Linked DNA regions of Homo sapiens: regions 1 and 2 are each linked to region 3. The links are contacts of gene promoters, found by promoter capture Hi-C in blood cells and fetal thymus (Javierre and others, 2016). All regions are on one chromosome and are shown on one strand. The core of a region is centred on a gene start or on the middle of the fragment in contact, and the rest is flanking DNA. Distances in the headings are between cores, read along the strand shown. Region 1 holds the start of UBE2Q1 (ubiquitin conjugating enzyme E2 Q1). Region 2 holds the start of RXFP4 (relaxin family peptide/INSL5 receptor 4). Region 3 holds the start of DPM3 (dolichyl-phosphate mannosyltransferase subunit 3, regulatory).

Region 1 (4,926 bases), core at 132-2,631, 580 kb after region 3:
TCAGCTTGCACACACAGACACAAAGTCAACATGTAGCAAACTGTTCAGGCTACCTAAACCAGATAAATGGCCCCACGAAGACCAGGAACAGACTATAATCGTCTTTAAATACCCATACCCCAACTTGACCAAAGGAGGCCTCTGCAGAGGCAATTGAATAGTCTTCCAGCAAAGGCTAGCTCATTTTAGTACAAGTGGGAGAGAAACGGGGCAATCTGACCAGTGGTTTAAGGGCTGAGTTGGCCCAGCAGAATTGACTAGGCCTTACCACAGGCTAATAACACTTGCCCTTGGCAAAACGAACGCCAGCTCGGGATTTCTGTAGCTTCAACCAGCTTTGTCCTTTGTGATAGTGCCACCTAGCGAGGGTCCGGAGGCACTACCTACTCCTGGCAGCTGCCAAGACCACTGCGACAAGGTGTTAGCCATTTAGGCCTAGGAAAGGGAATGGGGACCACCCGAGTCAGCACTCCTTCCATGACTCTGTGGAGGAAGCCCATGCTGTCCTTCCCCCAACCTCGTCCAGACCCATGGGGTCTGAAAAGCGCGAAAGGCCTGATATTAACTAACACTTGTACATAACACAGCAGTGATCTATTATCATTCCTCATTTTATGGTGTCCTCGCATCGAATCCCTCCCTGGGAATAGGAAAAACAGGCATCATTCTCATGAGAGCCATTGTACAGATGAGGAAACTGAGACTCGGCGGGAAAGTGGTTAACCCAAGGTCACAAAACGCCATGAGAGCCAGGGCTGGGACGAGAATCCACGCCTCTTCCATTCCGGTTCCCGGCTCCTACCCCGACCACCCACCCGAGTGTGAAGACACAGCATGCCCACCCCCACGGGGAGCAGAGGCTCCAGGATCCTGCGCCGAAGACCAGCATGTGGGAGCAGGATAAAGACTGCACGGGGAAGACAGCACTTCTTTCTTCTCTGTCCATGGAGTGCCGGGCACGCTCGCCACGGCTCGGGGGCGGGGGAAGCGGCGCCCGGGGCAGGAAACAGCGTCCTGCGCGGGTAGCCCCTGGGAGCACGCGGCACCGAGTCACGTGAGAGGGGAGCGCAGGCGAAGGGGCGTCGCGCGCAAGCACGCACGACATACGCAAACTCGCACTGAGGCGCCCACAGAGGCAAGCCCCAGGCCCCGGGTCACATGTGGAGGGTGGCAGGCGAGAACAGGGGGGCGGGAAAGACGGAGAGATCACGTGGAGGAGGCCAGAGCAGGGAAGTCACGTGAGGGGGACGGAGGCGGGGCCGCCTAGGAGGAGGAGGAGGAGGAGGGGCGCGCGGCTTCCGGCGGCTGGGGGGGCCAGCGAGCGGAGGGGGGGGCCTGTCCCGGAGGTGGCGGCGGCGCCATCTTGGCGAAGGGGGGATCAGGAAGTGCGGACCGCGGCGGCGGCGGCGGCGGCGGCGGCGGCGGCGGAGCCCGGAGCGCAGGCCGGAGGCTCCCGGCCCGCCGGCCCCGGAGCGGAGCGGAGCGGAGGATGCAGCAGCCGCAGCCGCAGGGGCAGCAGCAGCCGGGGCCGGGGCAGCAGCTGGGGGGCCAGGGGGCGGCGCCGGGGGCCGGGGGCGGCCCAGGGGGGGGCCCGGGGCCGGGGCCCTGCCTGAGGCGAGAGCTGAAGCTGCTCGAGTCCATCTTCCACCGCGGCCACGAGCGCTTCCGCATTGCCAGCGCCTGCCTGGACGAGCTGAGCTGCGAGTTCCTGCTGGCTGGGGCCGGAGGGGCCGGGGCGGGGGCCGCGCCCGGACCGCATCTCCCCCCACGGGGGTCGGTGCCTGGGGATCCTGTCCGCATCCACTGCAACATCACGGTGAGGACCCCCTCGCGTGCGCCTCTGTGGGGGCCCCTTGTCAGGGACCCAGGATCACTCCATCCAGCTTTTTGCTCTCGAAGGACCTGGGAGGCCGAAGCCCCTCTCAGGGCTCAGTTCTTTCTCTCCAGGTTACATTTGTTTCTGCTGCTTGAGGTTATGCAGTGCACCCAGAATCTCTACCATTGACCCCAATAGCAAGGGACACCCCGACATATGGCGCCTAGACTACCCGTTTCCACGAACCCACCCACATCCCAAGGTTCATGATTTTGGCTCTTTTTGGCTACTCCTCCACAACTTTACCTTGCCACCTAGGAATGCGTCTTTCTTCCCCTTACTCTTATTTCAAGGTTTTAGGCCTCGGCACTGACCCTAACTGCAAAGACCTGGCCTGAAACTCACTGCACATTTCAGCGATGCCCCCTTCTCAGTAGTACCTCTGACTTAGGAGGTTGCCACCTGTGGGATCCCCGCCTAGGCATCCCTCATGCAGACCCTCTTGCTCTCTCAACTTCACCAAGTGATAGTTTGCAATTCATTGACTCCTCTTCCTTCTCTCCTTTGGATTCTTTTTCTGGTGTAACCTCTAACTCTCCTCTTTTTGCCTCAGCTGGTAGCAGTTCTGCCACTCCCCTGCCTGTTCCCTATGGATATGTCCATTTGCCCTGGGTTGTTGCTTTTCCTGGTAATGATAGTGATGTGATGTGCGAGGGCTACCCCCATTTATTCTAAGCAGTAACAGTTGCATTTCTCCCCTGTGAGCGTCATTCCATCCTAGGCATACACCTTACATGTCTCCTGCCTGGTCTACCCTCAGACATCCCTTGAACAGAGAATTGGCTTCTGCTAATTTGGGAATGTCTGGTACTGCATGCTATAGCACTTATATTGGTTGATGTTACCTGCTGTGATGGTATTCTCTCTACCGGAGCAGTAGCTGAAATGCTAGCAGACAGTACTTTATCCAGGCAGGCAGACCTAATCGGAGTAGCCTGGGGAAAGGCAGAGTTGTGAATTCTCTGCTACTTGGGGGCCTGAATTCAACTTACTGGTGTTTTCTGTCCGTTTTCTCAATCAAACCAAGTTAAGATTTGGTGAGGTAAAGCCTCAGTTTGGATTGATTGGTGCCCCACCAAAACTCATATGTCCCATTTCTCTTTTCATTTCCTTTCTTTTTTCCTGCTAGAAAGTTAAAATTGAAGGACTAGGAGTGGCTTAGTTAAGTGAAGACTTGGGCATCTTTGATAATTATTTTTCCTCCAGCATTGAGGATTAGAGTCATGGCAATGCTAAGATACCCAGTAGAGGTGGATAAGGTTTCCCTGGCTTGTGTGGGAACCTCGAGTTAATTTTGTTCCTGAATTAAGCTTCTAATTCCTTAAGGGTAGGTTTGCCCCTATCCAGCTGCTCTTTCTGTTGCCAGAGGCCATTTACTGCGTTTGTCCCTGGCAGGAAGTTAAATTTAGGGGGTCCTCAGCCAGACTCCCCATGGCTATAAAGGAGACTTGGCCTAAACTAGCCCCCTTGGTTTGGGCAGAGAGGGAGTCTGGTCAGGCTGCATTTGGCACCGTGGCTCAGGAATGCTGGGAATGTCAGTAGCGTAGGCTTCTTTCTCCCAGCCTGCCATGTGGAGCCCTACAGCCCACGCCTGGACTGAGAAGGTGGCAGGTTCCCAAGGGAGAGGTGGGGAGAATTGGTCTTTGAGGGGCTCTTCTGGAAGTGGTGTGGGTAGATTCTTGCCAGTACCCTTTTACTCTTGGGTTCTGGAGATACAGTCTAGTTTTTATACTTCTTCCCTACTGAACTCTGCTTTTTTCACTTCAGTGTCATTGTGATGAGGTGATCCCTTCCTCAGCCGATTCTGGAGTTTGAAAAGCAAGCTTGGAGGACTGTTCTGGGTCCAGGGAGAACTTGAAGTCTAGAACTTGTATAGGCAGTGCAGGAGATGAGGAGTCCCCCTTCGCTGTTAGCCAAGTTTGGCTGTGCTAGGTTTCCTGGTTTGTACTCTCGAGGAAAGAAAGAAAAGGTTTCAGTCTGCTTCTCGGAAAGGGTCTTCCCAGGGACTGTTTTTCTTCCAGTTTAGAATTTGTTGTGAAGCTGCTTGGTTAGATGCTGACCTAAGTTGGGCTTTTATGTGTGTGTAGGGGGTGGGGGTGGGAAGCAAAGGGGCTAGAAGTCTTGGGGGGAAGAGGACAGGCAAAATCTGGCTTTTCCCAGAGTCACCCATTTTGATTGCTCTTATTGCTCTTTTCCCTTCAGGAGTCATACCCTGCTGTGCCCCCCATCTGGTCGGTGGAGTCTGATGACCCTAACTTGGCTGCTGTCTTGGAGAGGCTGGTGGACATAAAGAAAGGGAATACTCTGGTGAGGGGGCCACAGGGTAGGGGTACATTTTGTTCTTATGAGGCCCATGCCACAAAGGCATCCTGTGAAAGGGATCCTGAAAAGTGGACGGTACACAGCTAAACATTTAGGGGATGACCTCTCGGGGGAGTTGCTTACTGAAGCCAGAGGGAGACCCTGCATCGGCCCTGGGATTGGTCCATCAGGAGACTCATTCCCACAGCCACGTGGCCCATAAGGCTTAGAGAACTAGTTATTGGTGTGGGGCCCAAACTAAGAGCTCATCCATGCACTTATCCAGATCGGAGTGGGGAAGGATTTGATGTCTCTGTGCTCCCCTACCTGTAGCTATTGCAGCATCTGAAGAGGATCATCTCCGACCTGTGTAAACTCTATAACCTCCCTCAGCATCCAGATGTGGAGATGCTGGATCAACCCTTGCCAGCAGAGCAGGTGAGCAGCTGAGGAGCCTCGGGCCCTGTTGTGCAGAGTTGCCCCACAGGGTACTCAGTAAATAATTGAGACAAATCAGTAGTTTCTCTCCATCCCCACCGGCTCCCAAAAACATACACGTCTTATGACTCTCACCCTCGTTCTTCTCCAGATGGGAATCTTCTTTTGCTAAATGGGGCACTGGTAGCTTCATCTCTGATATCAAAATTCATTCTCATGGGCAGCATCCCAGATGTTGAAAGGGAGCGGGGGAATTTTTACCATTATCTTAGCAATAACAGTTGGTGGCCACTGGGGACCCAGGCCCCTTG
Region 2 (4,900 bases), core at 1,110-3,609, 800 kb before region 3:
AAAATTACAAAAAATTGGCCAGGCATGGTAGCGGGAGCCTGTAGTCCCAGCTACTCGGGAGGCTGAGGCAGGAGAATCGCTTGAACCCGGGAAGCGGAGGTTGCAGTGAGCTGAGATCACACCACTGCACTCCAGCCTGGGCGACAGAACGAGACTCTGTCTCAAACAAACAAACAAACAAACAAGAATAATAGCTAACAGTATATTTCACTGTTAAATCTTTAGTAGCCCATTTTACAGTTGAGAACAGTGAGGTACAAAGAGGTAAAGTAATTTGCTGGAGGTAAAGCTGTGAATCCAGGTGCTCTGACACTCAAATTGATACTCTGGGCTTTGCATTTGGGGCAGGGAGGACTAGCACCACTTTCTGAGGTCTCTGCTTTTCTGGCTCTACCTGCAGCCTGTTCTCCCAGCCCCCTCCCCTCTTTAATCGCTCACCTCCCTTCACCCCACCCATGTCTTTGACTTGTCATTATCTTCACTTCTTTCAAATCCTGATTTAAAGGGAGACACACAGGCACTCCCGTCAGCACCAGGGTTTTACACCCAGGGCCTGGCAGGTGCTGGAAATTCCAGCAATACCCCACACCTGGCATCCCTTCAAGGGAACTACAGCTTTTGCAGCTGAGGCCTCTGCAGGCAGCAAGTTTCAGTGGTCACCACTGAGATGGTAAGGTGAGGACAGGGGAAGCTGGCATTTTTGGCCTTGATACCGGAGAAAGACAAGGGATACCCTGTTTTGAGGTGGGGGGTGGGTACAGAGAGAGATGGGCACTGACCTCTGATTCATTAGCCTAGAACCCTTAGGGAAGTTTTCCTAGGTATTCTTGCAGAAAGCAGAAATGGAGCAACGAATCCTTTTGTTCCATACTGAACTGGAGGTGGAACTGGGATAAAAGGTCAAGACAATTTGTGGATAATCCAGAGGTTTATTCTCAGATCCTCTTCTTTCCCATCTCCAAATAAAGACTTAAGCTTTGTCACATCCAGCTCTGATCTGAGCCCCCGCCTCCCCCATTCACCACACCCAGAGTTGGGGATCAAAGATCAGACTTTTCCCTGAGGGCACTGCAGCCTGGCAGAGAGGGCAGCTTCTCCCCAGGACTCAAGGATCCTACACTTGGTGGATCTCAGAAAGAGGAGTGTGTTCAGCTTGCGCCCTTCACCCGGGTGTCCCTCTGTCCAGGTTGGTGAGCAGGGTAGAAGGGCGGCTCTCCCGGGGGTTGCTTGCGACCCACCGCCTGCCTACCTGCTTTAGGGCCACCTGTTGCACCCAGCCTCCGCCCTGGGGCCACAGCCTCAACCGCAGATCCCTGAAGGTGCCTGCCAGAGCCTGCCGGGGCTCCCGCCTCAGGAGACAGTACAGCACAGGGTTGAGGCAGCTATTGCTGTGTGCCAAGCAAGTAGTGACAGGGAAGACATACGTCTGGATAGTATAGAAAGTACTGTTCCAGGGCACCAGGTCAAACTTCACCAGGACACCCCAGAGAGTGACCACATGGTTGGGAAACCAGCAGAGGAAGAAGGAAGCCACCAGGATGCGGACAGAGCGGGCCACGACCCTGCTGTCCTGCCGCCGCCGTTGCCGCCGCTGCAGGAAGGCCAGCAGCAGCAGGTAGCTGGTGGTGATGACGCCCAAGGGCACCATGAAAGCCAGCACCACCCTCTGCAGCTGGTAGGCCCCCAGCCAGTACCTGCTGGGGAAACGCAGCAGGCAAAGGCGCACACCACACACCTCACCCTCCACCCCGAAGACAGCTGTGGGCACCGTCACCAGGGCAGCCGCCGCCCACACTGCCAGGGTGGCTATTCGGGCCCAGAAGAGTGAGAGGTGGGTGCCTGGCCCCGCAGCCATGGCCACCACCCAGTAGCGAGCAACGCTCAGCGCTGTGATGAGGAAGATGCTGGCATAGACGTTGAGGACAGTGGCCGTCAGAACCATCTTGCAGAGGGCACCTCCGAAGGGCCAGTGAAAGTCCAGTGCCGACTCGGCTGCCCAAAAGGGGAGAGTGAGTGCCAGTCCCAGGTCCGCCAGAGCCAGGTTGAAGACGAAGGTGTCTGAAGGTGGGCCAGGGGCTCTCCGGGCACAGTTACTCAGTACCCACAGCACCGCCAAATTTCCCAGCAAGCCAATGGCCCCCACAAGCCCATAGGCCAGGGCAACCATGAGCCTCAGGGCTAGGAATTTGACAGGCATCGGAGCATCATCAGCACTCAGCACACTGCCTCCGGAGGCATTGGCCCAGAAGAATGTGGGTGGAGAGGCAGAAGTATTGAGTGTGGGCATCGCAGGGCATCAGAGATTGGTGGTGCTGAGAAGAGAGGTCTGCAAGTGTCTGCCAGACTGGCAGAGGCCACTGAAGGCTCTAGGAAGGAGGCTGTAGAATTAAGTGCTTCTCTGGGGCCTCTGGTGAGCCCTGGCCCACGCCCACACCTCAGAGGGAGGGGTGTGGAAAGGACAACCCACCACCTTCCTGTTGGTCAAGATTGGTGGTAGGTGGGGCAGGGCGAGGCACAGCCTGAATGCCAGGGTATATGTGCATGCGCCCGCCTGTAAGAGGGGCTCTAAATGGCAGAGAGGGAGGGGAGAAGGGAGAGTTACCCCGCTATGGAGGGCAGCCCCAAGCCTCCACCCCAGGGAGAGAGCTGGAGGTTCCCTGTCCCAGAGATGACAGGAACCAAACTAGAGCTGCCTCTGTTCCTAACAGTGCAGAGGCCTCCCTCCTCTGCAGAAAGTGTTCCCTTGGGGCCCAAAGCAAGGGGCCTGGGAGGTGGCATAGAGGCAGGGAATCAGCATGGGTGTCCAAGAGAGGAAAGAGCGGAGGCTGCGGAGTCCCAGACCTGCTGCTCACTAGCCGTGTGACTGGGAGAGTTACTTTACTCCCCTAAGCCTGTTTTCTTGCTTAAAATTTTCAGGTAAGTCTGCTTCACAGGAGTGGCATGATGCAATGAGAGAACACATGTGAAATAGCAATTTGTATGAATATTATTTCAAAGGAGAAGTTTGGGGTGTTTGTGGCAGAAGGGTACTGAGAGGCTATTACCATGCCCAGGGAACAGTGCCAACTAAAACAGGTTGGAATTCATCTCAGCAGCAGTGACCTTGAGGCTAAGAGCAGGGAGGGAAAAGAGAGAGGAAGTCACAGCTTCCTGTTTCCTCCCCACTGGGAACACTGGGCCTATGAGGGCCTGTGTGGACCTGGGCATGCCCTCAGTTCTGTTCCTGCTCCTGATAATTAAACATTCCTGCTAACCTCTATCGCCGCCTTTCCCCCCTTTCCTGCTCTAGTCTGTGGACAGAGCTCAGCGGTCCCCCTACTCTCTCCTGCAAACCCCATGTCAGAGCTAAGGATCCTGAGATACGCCCTCACCACACCTCATCCTGTCTCCCCATGATCTCAATCATAACTGGAAAAAAAAAATGCTTCATTGGGCCCTCCCCTTTCATTGCCTACATCTCTACCTACTGCAGAAGGAGCTGAGGTGGGGACAAAGAGAAGGCAGGAGGTGGATAGGTAAAAGAGTAAGGCTTTCTCAAGGATTCCAATATATTCAGCCCCTTCTTGCCCTCTGCCAGCTAATTAAGATAACGTTCGATGTTCAGTTCCTTTGGAGTGCTGAGGGAAGAGAGGGGCCCTTTGCGACAATAAATCAGCAGTGGGCTTGTGAACACATAGGAGAAACCCAGAGGTGAGAGTGATACAGGCTGGGTGCCAACATGTTGGGGCTTTCGAACCAGGGATGAGTATAAAGGGGGTGGCAGAAGGGGAGTGCCCAGCCCAAGGTCAGGTGAGCCCCACAGGCTACCTTCTGGCCTCATGGCTGCTCCTGTGTGACTGTGTCATCACTGTCTCTCGGGGCCATGTCTACTCCTCTGCCCACCCAGAATCACCCTGCTAATCTGGCAATTAAGATAACTGCTTGGCCAGACGAGGTGGCTCATGCCTGTAATCCCAGCACTTTGGGAGGCCGAGGTGAGCGAATCACCTGAGGTCGGGAGTTCAAGACCAGCCTGACCAACATGGGGAAAGCCCGTCTCTACTAAAAATACAAAATTAGTGGCGCGTGGTGGCGAGTGCCTGTAATCACAGCTACTCGGGAGGCTGAGGCAGGAGAATCACTTGAACCCGGGAGGCAGAGATTTTGGTGAGCTGAGATCACACCACTGCACTCCAGCCTGGGCGACAGAGCGAGACTCCATCTCAAAAAAAAAAAAAAATTTTTTTTCTTTTTTTCTTTTTTTTTTGGTTGAGAAGAGGTCTCACTCTGTCACCCAGGCTGGAGTGCAGTGGCACAATCTTGGCTCAGTGCCTCGACCTCCCCAGGCTCAGGTGATCCTCCTACCTCAGCCACAGGAATGTGCTACCACACAGGCTAATTTTTGTATTTTTAGGAGAGATGGGGTATCCCTATGTTGCCCAGGATTGTCTTGAACTCCTGGGCTCAAGCAACCCTCTCACCTCACCCTCCCAAAGTGCTGGGATTACAGCCATAAGCCACCACGCCTAGCATCAAAAATATTCTTGAAATGACCTCAGGTGATCCTCCTGCCTTGGCCTCCCAAAGTGCTGGGATTACAGGCATGTCAGGAGATCGAGACCATCCTGGCTAACATGGTGAAACCCCATCTCTAAAAAAAAAAAATACAAAAATTAGCCGGGTGTGGTGGCAGGTGCCTGTAGTCCCAGCTACTCGGGAGGCTGAGGCAGGAGAATGGTATGAACCCGGGAGGTGGAGCTTGCAGTGAGCCGAGATCGTGCCACTGCACTCCAGCCTGGGCGACAGAGTGAGACTCCGTCTCAAAAAAAAAAAAAAAAAAAAATCAGCTGGTCATGGTGACACTTTGGGAGGCTGAGGCGAATGGATTGCTTGAGCCCAGTAATTCAAGACCAGTCTGGGC
Region 3 (4,455 bases), core at 1,646-4,145:
AGAAAAGTTTTTATTTGTTTTAATTTTTACTTTAACAAAGGAATTTGTATAGTTTTAAAAGCCAACTAGTTCAACAAATATTTTTCGGGGTGGCGGGGCATTTTCAAGTGAAAACCGGGAAACCTGCTCAACAAATTCTGAAAGCTGTAACTTCGGTGGGCGCCGTGGCTTACGACTGCAATAGCAGCACTTTGTGGGGGCTGAGATGAATTGCTTGAGCCCAGGATTTTGAGACCAGCCTGGGCAACATAGGGAGACCCCGTCTACACACACACACACACACACACACACACACACACACACACACACACTAGATGGGCGTGGTGGTGGTGGCCCACTTCTGTAGTCCCTGCTACTCCAGAGTCTGAGGTGGGAGGATAGCTTGAGTCCAGGAGGTCGAGGCTGCAGTAAGCCATGTTTGCACCGCTGCTCTCCACCCTGGGCAACAGAGCAAGACCTTGTCTGAAAAAAAGAAAAAGAATAGAAAAAAAAAGAGCTGTAACTCTACAAGGCTTTTAATGAAAAATAACCATCCCCTGCTCCTCTTCTTTAACCCTTACATATACAACCTACATATACAACTACGCTCCAGTTTCTAGGCTGCTTCTTCTGGTACTTATCTGTACATTTCTTCAAGCAACACTCCCACCTAGGCCTCCCAAAGTTCTGGGATCACAGCTCCACTGTCCCCAGCTCCAATTTTTAGTTAAATCAATACTTAGTGTTTACATCGTTACGGCTGTGAAAATTTTCTTCACAGCTGAGCCATTTGTGTTTGTGCTAAGACTGTGAATCTGTAAAAACTGCTTTTGTTAATTAACATCCAGGACATACGGCTGAGAAACTTCATTTTCTAAAATCATAGTCACAAACTTTGCTATTTGAAATCAGTCAGTGCGAATGGAACATCCTACTCTTGCCAGAAGTTCTGAGCCACGTGGATTACTTTGGCCTCCCAAAGTGTTGGGATTACAGGCACGAGCCACTGTGCCCAGCCTAGATAGTGGGTTTTTGGACACTATATTCTATATTTATCTTGACTTTGTAATTTCCAAGTGGTCCCTCAGCTTGGACTTCTTGATCCCTTCACTTAAAGTTATGCTTACCTCGAACCGATCAAAACACTGTTTCATTTAAATTTTAGCTAGCCTATAGTATCAGCCACTTGGGAGGCTGAGGCAGGAGGATCACTTGAGCCCAGAAGTTTGAGCTTCGCCTGGGCAACATACCGAGACTTCAACTCTAAATAAATAAGTAAATAAATTTTAAAATATAAATTTTAAAGTCAAGCCTTTCCCATATCCTGTTGTATTAGTTCATTTTCACATTACTGATAAAGACATACCCGAAACTGCAAACAAAAAGAGGTTTAATTGGACTTACAGTTCCACATTGCTGGGGAGGCCTCAGAATCATGGCGGGAGACAAAGGCACTTCTTACATGGCGGTGGCAAGAGAAAAATGAGGAAGAAGCAAAAGCAGAAACCCCTGATGAACTCATCAGATCTTGTGAGACTTATTCACTATCATGAAAATAGCACGGGAAAGTCTGGCCCCCGTGATTCAATTACCTCCCCTTAGGTCCCTCGCACGTGGGAATTCTGGGAGATACACATCAACTTGAAATTTGGGTGGGGACACAGCCAAACCATATCATCTGAATGACCATATTTCTTCCTTTTTAATGAGTTGCCCCACAGTTCTTCTAGTGTGTGATCTCTCTGTTGTGGCAAGTTAATAAACCTAACTGTCAAACTACAGATGTGGTCTTTATAAGACAGGCTTATCAATTGTCTTTCCTTTCTTATATAACTCTTTGTTTCCTCTGAAGTTGATAATTGCCTAACCTTTTCTCTTACTTTGTTCTCTCTCTCTCTTTCTCTCTATACATAATAAATTCATCCCCAAAACTGTTCTAAAGAATTATACTCTTTCTTTCAATGCCTTCACCACTTCAGGTAATTCTTCTGGTCTTTCTTTTCTTTTCTTTTTTTTTGAAACCCAGACTCCTGGAGCCCTTCTTCCTCTGGCTCCAAGTTATATTGGTTGTTGTCCTTGTAAAAATATGACTACCTCTGTTCTAACAATAATCTCAAGCCTTCATGGTTAGTTGTCAATGCAACTGCTTCACTGACTCCTGCTTTCCCCCTCCACCTGAAAGGGGTCGAGTCTCTTGACATCTCTGTATCTCCAAAGTCTATCATGGTAATCAAGAAATGTTCTGGCCGGGCGCTGTGGCTCATGCCTGTAATCCTAGCACTTTGGAAGGCTGAGGTGGGCCAGTCACTTGAGGTCAGGAGTTTGAGACCAGCCTGGCCAACATAGTGAAATCCCCGTTCTCTGCTAAAAATAAAAAAATTAGCCCGGCGTGGTGGCGCGCGCCTGTAATCCCAGCTGCTCGGGAGACAGAGGTTGCAGTGAGCTGAGATCGAGCCACTGTACTCCAGCATGGGCAACAGAGCGAGACTTTGTCTCAAAAAAAAAAAAAAAAAAAAAAAAAAAAAAAAGGAGTTCTGTCCCGCCTAGGCACTATAGAGAGACCCTGTCAAGAATGGAAAGAAAGAAATCTTCGAATGAATGAACTAGTGAATGAAGGAATGGATTTCAGCGCTGGAGAATTGAGTTTAAGGGGAATGGTATTATATTCCCATCTTGTTGCAACATTTAAGGATGTCCTCAAGCCCCACGCCAGCCTGGAGCGTAGCCCAAGGTGGGAAAGCAGCGCCGAGGCCTCTCCAGACCCGGCCTGCTCCCCGTTTGCGGAGCACAGCCCACTGTACCCCCGCCTAGATTGAGGCGCTGGCCAGGAGTACACCAGGCGCCGCCATGTGAACTACAACTCCCAGAAGGCCGCGCGGAAGCGGAACGTGAACCAGGGAGGACTTCCGGACGCCAACATCCGGGCCGCGCGGGGAAGGGGAGACGTGGGGTAGAGGTAAGTGTAGGTTGAAGGCTGAATGGGGAGGGCGAGAGATGGGGAGTGGGTCTCAAATATAGAGGGGGTAGCAAGGTGGAAGGGGCCCTTCCACCTTTTGTGGGCACTCAAGTTCGGACCTCTGGGATCGGCGATTCCCCTCTGGCCAGGGCTGGTTTTAATGCTCTCCGTGGGCGGGCTTCGGTTGAGTTTGGTCCGCTTTTCCTTTCTGCTCCTCAGGGGAGCATTGCTTCCTTCTCTCGCAGTGACCATGACGAAATTAGCGCAGTGGCTTTGGGGACTAGCGATCCTGGGCTCCACCTGGGTGGCCCTGACCACGGGAGCCTTGGGCCTGGAGCTGCCCTTGTCCTGCCAGGAAGTCCTGTGGCCACTGCCCGCCTACTTGCTGGTGTCCGCCGGCTGCTATGCCCTGGGCACTGTGGGCTATCGTGTGGCCACTTTTCATGACTGCGAGGACGCCGCACGCGAGCTGCAGAGCCAGATACAGGAGGCCCGAGCCGACTTAGCCCGCAGGGGGCTGCGCTTCTGACAGCCTAACCCCATTCCTGTGCGGACAGCCCTTCCTCCCATTTCCCATTAAAGAGCCAGTTTATTTTCTAACTTCGTTTAGTTTGAGTATGGAAAACGGGTATTGGGGATTCTATGTACTAACGGTCGAGAAGTGAATGTGAAAGAACCACCTTCTTGAGGCCATCTCAGCCTTTATCTTTGCATCTTGCTGGTGTTCCCATTTTTGCTCCCAAGGAGGCAAAGACCCCTTCTCAATATTTCTCAGGATGGAAATGACATTTCACTTTCCTGGTCCTTTCAACCCTGTAGGAAGTACTTCTTTTTTTTTTTTTTTGAGACGGAGCCTTGCTCTGTCGTCCAGGCTGGAGTGCAGTGGCGTGATCTCGGCTCACTGCAAGCTCCGCCTCCCGGGTTCACGCCATTCTCCTGCCTCAGCCTCCTGAGTAGCTGGGACTACAGGCGCCTGCCACCACGCCTGGCTAATTTTTTGTATTTTTAGTAGAGTCGGGGTTTCACCGTGTTGGCCAGGATGGTCTGATCTCCTGACCTCGTAATCCGCCCGCCTCGGCCTCCCAAAGTGCTGGGATTACAGGTGTGAGTCACCGCGCCCGGCGTACTACTTCTTTTTTTTTTTTTTTTTGAGACAGGGTCTCACTCTGTTGCCCAGGCTGGAGTGCAGTGGTGCAATCATGGCTCACTGCAGCCTCACCCTCCCAGGCTCAAACAGTTCTCCCACCTCAGCCTCCAGAGTAGCTGGGACTACAGGCATATGCCACCACGCCACCAGGCTAATGTTTAATTTTTTGTAGTGACAGGGTCTCGCTGTGTTGCTCAGGCTGTTCTCAAACTCCTGGGCTCAAGTGATCCTCCTGCCTGGGCCTCCCAAAGTGCTGTGATTACAGACATAAGCCACCTTACCCGGCCAGAAGTACTTTCTTGAAGCCTAAGTTCCATTCTTCATAACATCCAAGTTTTGTTATTTTTAAGGCCTTCCTGGGTCTTTCCAACCT

Evidence for each region. Contacts are between HindIII fragments. The CHiCAGO score rates a contact against its expected background, and 5 or more counts as called.
Region 1: the fragment with the promoter of UBE2Q1 here is called in contact with the fragment with the promoter of DPM3 in region 3 in 5 of 17 cell types (neutrophils, total B cells, fetal thymus and 2 more); the score reaches 12.7 in neutrophils.
Region 2: a contact is called between the fragment with the promoter of RXFP4 here and the fragment with the promoter of DPM3 in region 3, in 2 of 17 cell types (neutrophils and monocytes). The highest score is 5.3, in neutrophils.

What each region holds. Positions count from the first base shown.
Region 1 is chr1:154,555,117-154,560,042 of GRCh38, reverse strand. It overlaps UBE2Q1 (ubiquitin conjugating enzyme E2 Q1), which reads left to right and starts at 1,381. Exons shown (of 13, transcript NM_017582.7): 1 at 1,381-1,816; 2 at 4,079-4,183; 3 at 4,511-4,615. The coding sequence starts at 1,490. RefSeq lists enhancers at 365-945, 946-1,527 and silencers at 897-986, 1,107-1,196, 1,287-1,366, 1,687-1,786. The HindIII fragment of the contact is 10,457 bases long and covers 1-3,188 here.
Region 2 is chr1:155,939,097-155,943,996 of GRCh38, reverse strand. RXFP4 (relaxin family peptide/INSL5 receptor 4) reads right to left here and starts at 2,359. Exons shown (of 1, transcript NM_181885.3): 1 at 910-2,359. The coding sequence starts at 2,287. The coding sequence ends at 1,163. RefSeq lists an enhancer at 1,806-2,305 and a silencer at 2,625-2,919. The HindIII fragment of the contact is 9,136 bases long and covers 978-4,900 here.
Region 3 is chr1:155,138,971-155,143,425 of GRCh38, reverse strand. DPM3 (dolichyl-phosphate mannosyltransferase subunit 3, regulatory) reads left to right here and starts at 2,895. Exons shown (of 2, transcript NM_153741.2): 1 at 2,895-2,935; 2 at 3,181-3,535. The coding sequence starts at 3,186. The coding sequence ends at 3,464. RefSeq lists enhancers at 2,596-2,655, 2,826-2,955. The HindIII fragment of the contact is 26,354 bases long and covers 1-4,455 here.